Linked DNA regions of Homo sapiens: region 1 is linked to region 2. The links are contacts of gene promoters, found by promoter capture Hi-C in human tissues and cell types (Jung and others, 2019). All regions are on one chromosome and are shown on one strand. The core of a region is centred on a gene start or on the middle of the fragment in contact, and the rest is flanking DNA. Distances in the headings are between cores, read along the strand shown.

The links. The method cuts DNA at HindIII sites, captures the fragments that hold promoters and counts their contacts. A contact is called where the count stands out against the background at its distance.
Region 1: a fragment that was not itself captured here is called in contact with the fragment with the promoter of PEX5L in region 2 in 2 of the 25 tissues and cell types used here (hippocampus and pancreas).

Annotation. Positions count from the first base shown.
Region 1 is chr3:180,116,015-180,119,047 of GRCh38, forward strand. No RefSeq gene overlaps it. Among named protein-coding and RNA genes, the nearest start is that of PEX5L, 81 kb to the left of the region's middle. The HindIII fragment of the contact is 6,221 bases long and covers 1-3,033 here.
Region 2 is chr3:180,035,605-180,038,304 of GRCh38, forward strand. It overlaps PEX5L (peroxisomal biogenesis factor 5 like), which reads right to left and starts at 1,333. Exons shown (of 15, transcript NM_016559.3): 1 at 975-1,333. The coding sequence starts at 995. RefSeq lists a silencer at 1,399-1,448. The HindIII fragment of the contact is 6,291 bases long and covers 1-2,700 here.

The sequences.
Region 1 (3,033 bases), core at 344-2,843, 81 kb after region 2:
GAGTTGCCCCCATCTGAAAATCCCAAGGTGTGTCAGAACCGTGAACAGAGGGCTGAACTTTATAAAGCTTGAGCCAGTTTGCTTTTATTAAACTCATTACTGTGTACCACTCATTTATTTTAAAAAATGTTTTTAAAGTGAGGTAGTTTCTAAAAAGAATACAGAATAACTGTCTTTGTTGTCTAATTCAGAGCTCTTTACTGAGAATTCTCTTTATTTTAACTTTTTATTTACATATTTTTTGGTGTTTTGACGGGAGACACTAAAGGTAGACTGAGGTAAGGTAATCTGAGAACAGCTCTGAGGGAAATGGCGCCAAGGCCTGCAAGTCCCTACCGGGGCTTAGATCTGTTTCAGTGAAACAGCTTTGCTCTCATACACAGCTGTATCAATTACACTGATTTGAAAGAAACAAAACACCTTTTGTGCTTGTCTTCCTCTGGGTTCTTTTTCATTCTTGCCAGAATTCTTTCTCCATAAGAATAATAGCGAAGATTTGCTTTGCAAAACTCTGTGCTCAGAGCTGGAAGTGGGGGTTGAGAGAAAACAGGAATTTGATTCTGATTTTTTTTTTTTTATCATGTAGTAGGCTGAGATTTTCTCCGGTGTGATAAAAAATAAAATGAGGCCAGATGGTAGTTGTTTATGGGTTCTGAAGTAAAAGTATTAAGTCATTAAAATTGGAGACTTCTCTCATTTATGCCAGCTTCTTCTTCTCATTAAATCCATGTTTTATGTGGATGAAGGTGCAGAGAGAGGATGTCTGGGCAGCAGATCCATATGCTTCCTTGCATTGGGCTCTGGCAAAGCACTTCTTTGCTCCTCTCAGATCTCCAGCCTGGAGTGAATGTAAAGGAATGTGTTTTCCCGAGAGGATTCTGGAAAGGTGCATACCAGTCCCTGTGCTTACAGCTTTCTTGTTGATGATAGGAAAAGGTTATCTATTCCCAGCTGTGAGGTGTTTCAAATCTGAATATACTCTGAGGTCCATTTTTTCGGTGTAGACTTTTCTGAGGACTCCTTCAAGAACAGCTTATTTTCATTGATGGATATAAGAGGGACATTTTCCAGGGTAATGAATCCTAAATGGAGATGCTCAAAGTTGGTTTGAAAACTGCTGGCTGATGTTATCTGTAAAAAAGAAACGATGACATTGTCCTGCTGTCAGGTTTTTAGAGGATAAAATCAATACAGTCCCTCCATGCTGCTGGGAGAAATGTACACCAGGTTGGGACTTACCCTGCTATTTCATGTAACTCTTGTCATATAAATAACCCCAGAGTTAAGCAAACAGCTTGTCTTAAAAAGTTCTAAGGTATAGGTTCCATTTTGTCAAGGAACAGTTTTTTTCTTGTTCAGCCCACACTAGTTCTCATGTGGTAGTTAAGTTTACAGGGAATTAGACTGATTGGGTTTGAATTTAGGTTTAAGTCCTAACTCCTTCTACTCACCAACCACGTGAACTTGGATAATTACTCTACACTTCTAAGCTACAGTTTCCTCATCTGTAAAATGGTGATATCAATAGCTGTTACCTCATAAAGTCCAGAGGCTAAATTGAGCAATGCATGTAAATGTATTTTTACAGTTCCTGGCCTGTGGTTCCTGGCTCTTGATAAGAAATATTCATCTTAAATAATGATATCTATCTAATCTTCACCACTTCTGATAAAGAATCCTTTACAGGAAACCTACCAAAATAGATGAGAAGGCTTCAGAAATCACCCGGTGAATTCAGAGCCTCCATGGGGAAATTCAACGGCCAGCTGCTTTTTATAATTGATGAGAAACAGGAGTGTTGTGTCAAGCTGCAGAGCTCTCCCCAACAACATGGTGTGGCTGCATGTCAAGGACCCCACACTGTCCCCCACAGCGTGGTGTGACCGCATGTCAAGGACGCCACACTCTCCCCCACAGCATGGTGTGGCTGCCATGCCAGGGACCCCACACTGTCCCCCACAGCGTGGTGTGGCTGCCATGTCAGGGACCCCACACTCTCCGCCACAGTGTGGTGTGGCTGCCATGTCAGGGACCCCACACTCTCCCCCACAGCGTGGTGTGGCTGCCATGTCAGGGACCCCACACTCTCCCCCACAGCGTGGTGTGGCTGCCATGTCAGGGATCCCACACTCTCCCCCACAGCGTGGTGTGGCTGCCATGTCAGGGACCCCACACTCTCCCCCACAGCATGGTGTGGCTGCATGTCAGGGACCCCTGTGCTGTGATGCTAAGTAGAGCTTGGTGTTGGAGGGGCAGGAATTGGGATGAGGAAGAGTTGTGGGAGACTTTCATTGTTTTGGGAGAAGAATCCCCTCCTAGGTCTATCTCATTCTTTTTAAAAAATTAGTTTCCACTTTTTCTTGGAAATCTAGATCTGAACAGAGGCCTAACTCATTCTTAATCTAGTGTTCTGGGACAAACAGAGAGTGAGGGAGAAAACACACACACACACACACACACACACACACACACACACACACAGCGGAAAAGGAAGTCCACCAAAGCCTTGGGGAGCCTCTTTTATATTGAGATGAGGAAAGACCATGGACAGACTTCTCACTGCAGAATTTTACTGAAGCCTTCTTTCAGCATTTCTCAGTTCCAAAATGCATACTCTGAGTTTTCAGAGCCTCTGAACCTTGTTCCCTTATTTAAAAATTTTACCTCTAAAAGCACACAAGTGCTTGCATTCCATCGATTCTAAAAATAAAATGTAATTATATGTACAATATAGGAAAACATTTTTGGAAAAAATAACGTATGTAGGGAAAGCTTCCCTTTATCGCCACCCAGAAACTAACCATGTACATATATGCACATATATGGTTTGTTTGTCAGTAATTTGTGATAGGAATGGGATCATAGTATACATATTTTTCTGTAATTTTTTTCACTTACCAATATATCTATAAGATTTCCAAGACAGTACATATATATCTAATTTATTATTTTCAACTGTTACATAGTATTCCATAGTATAAACAGCTGATAATTTAAGAATTTCCTCTATTGATGATTATATTTGGTTTTTAA
Region 2 (2,700 bases), core at 83-2,582:
AACATATTTATCTATTTCCAATTGCTCTAAAAGACACAGAAGCAAAATCCTCAGTATTCATAAATGTTATACACCAGGATAAAGGCATCACACATAATGATTGTATTTGACCATCTTTGGAATGGAAAGGAAGCCCAAACATCAAACCTGATGACTAAACCATTTAGGTGCGATAAAGAGTCCAGTTCATACTTTAGAAAGCTGAGTTAGTATTTTATTTTTCTCCCAAAGCATATATCTGCCTTTATAAGAACCAACCAACCGTATGAATGAGAACTGGAGTCAAGGTTAAAGTAATCTTGCCCAAGAGAGTAGAGTGTGTTTGCATCGGAAAGAAGCAGCGGCTCAGCTCAGATGAATATTAATAACAACCGGAGGCAGCACCTCCCCTGAAAAACATTAGAGCTCCTTGGACATGTGTTTGAAATTCATCCTCCCAAGTCATCCTGTGACTATTGGAGTAGATGGCAATGTCCCATAATGTGAAGGGGGAAAATACACTATAAATCGTTTTTTAAATATAACACTTTAAAAAATGAAACGAAAGTGACAGAGTGTTCTAAGTCAAGCAACCTTTTCAGATGGTAAAGGAAAAGCTTTGTCTTTCCTATTATTGTTTGCCCTTCAGTTGACATACATGCTGAGATGCATCAATAGGATTACAACGGAAACACGGTCATCTCTAGGGTTTCCTCTGTTTCGATTCCTTGATCCTGTTTAAAGAAACAGGCTCAGGGAATGCACAGAAAACAAACTTCCCCAATCGAAGTTCTGAGGTCTTCCCTCCCCTTCTCCCACCTTCGGAAACCGGTCTAGTTTTCCCGGCAGCACCGGACAGAAATGTCACGGTCATGTTGCATCACTTCACTTGTTGAGCTGTGCGAAGGCAGCACTTGACCACAGAAACTTGGTGAACCGCCTTGCTCTTAAATTAGCCCCCAAGAATTCTCTCCAGCCCTATAGAAATGTCTTACCTGCATGTGTCCCTGGTACATTCTGCTTCGGTTTCTTCAGGGCTCCCTGAGGCCACCGGATGCTTTTCCCCCGTGCTTACTTGCCCACCAAAAGAGGGGAAAAGGTGGGTGCACAGCGGGTTCTCAGAGGGTGCTCCTGAGCCCCCTGGAGCTCCGGGTACTCGGCCGGCCGGCGGCCACTCGGCAGCGCTGCGGGCTGCCGGGAACTGTTCTCCGCTCGGGGTGCTGAAAGCGGACGCGGGAGAGCGCGCAGAGAAGGCGAGGAGCCGGGTCGGCCAGGCTCTCCTGCAGGCGCGGGTCCTGCTCGCGGGGCGTCTCTAGAACTCACTCCTTCTTCGCCGAACTCTTTCTCGCTTCCTGCCAGGTTGCCTCATGTCTCTCTCTCTCTGAGCTGCGAACCCCCTCCTCCCAGCCCTGACGTGAGCGCCTACACCAGCCGCCGCCGCAGCTGCCGAGCGGGGCGCGCGCCGTTCTCCCAGCCGCGTGCCTGCCGAGAGGCCGCGGGACCGGGCACGCGCGCGCGTTCCCAGGGGCCTGGGAGCGGCCCGAGGGCGGCCCCGGGCGGTGCGCGCTCCCCGAGCGCGTCCTCGGGGCTGCGCGCGCGCGGCGGCAAGGCGAGGTGCCGGCAGGCGGTGGTCGCGCTGGTGTACAACGCCCGCAGCAGCGCGGCGTTCAGGTGCGGCGTCGGCGGGCAGGGCGATTCTAGCGGAGAGGATGGCCGGCCGGAAGAAAGGCGGGAAGACATGCATCGTCTCTCCGGGGGCCATCCACCGCGGCTGAGCCTGTTATCCTACAGACATTATAGGCTGAGTGCAGGGGTTGCCGAAGAGTTTACTTCGGTTCTGATTCAGCTCTCGAAAGTTACGTCCGTATCACCCGTTAAATAAAGACTCCCCGCTCCCCTCATCCCCAGTTCATCGCCGAGCATTCTATTTAAAACGGCAAACCCTAGTCCCTGAGGATCTGGCATGTTTTATTTTTTTCCCTAGCACGTAACATCACCTAACATCCTTTATATTTTCCATATTTATTTTATGTACTGTCTGTCTCTCCCTCTGTACAATGTTATTTCCATGAGATCAGGGACTTTTTTTTAGGGGGGTGGAGTGTTGCACTTGGTTTTGCACGTGTGTGCACAGTAAGGTATTTAGTACTTCCTGACACATGGCAGGCACACAATAAATATTTGCTGAATGAATAGACCTTTACTACTATACACTTACACACACATACACACATATATGAAGAGTGCATTTAAATATGTCTCAAGTTGAGACTGGGTAGTTTGATGTGTCTACACAATAAATGTTCATATATACACACACACCACGGGGTGGTGTATACTGTGATTACCTAATTTTGTTGGTAAAAACATCTCCAATTCTACAGGCCCCTCATATTATGTACAGCATGATATCCCCAAAATATTGCATATAGCATAATATGCTTTTTATAAAGTTTAAAAAATCCCTAGAAATGTCAATGTGTATTCATATATTCATATACAACAATATAAAAAGGAAAGCAGTGGAACAATGAATATAGTGTTCAGAGTGTTGGTGACCCTGGGTGAAGGGAGGCAGGGAAATAGATGGGGAAGCATTTCACTTGAAGTTTAGATGTTAATGTCTTATCTTCTATGCCGGGTAGTGATTCATAGGACACCTAATATCCTATTAAAAATTACTGTGTAACTAAATAAAATAGAACCATGTATGGACTAATG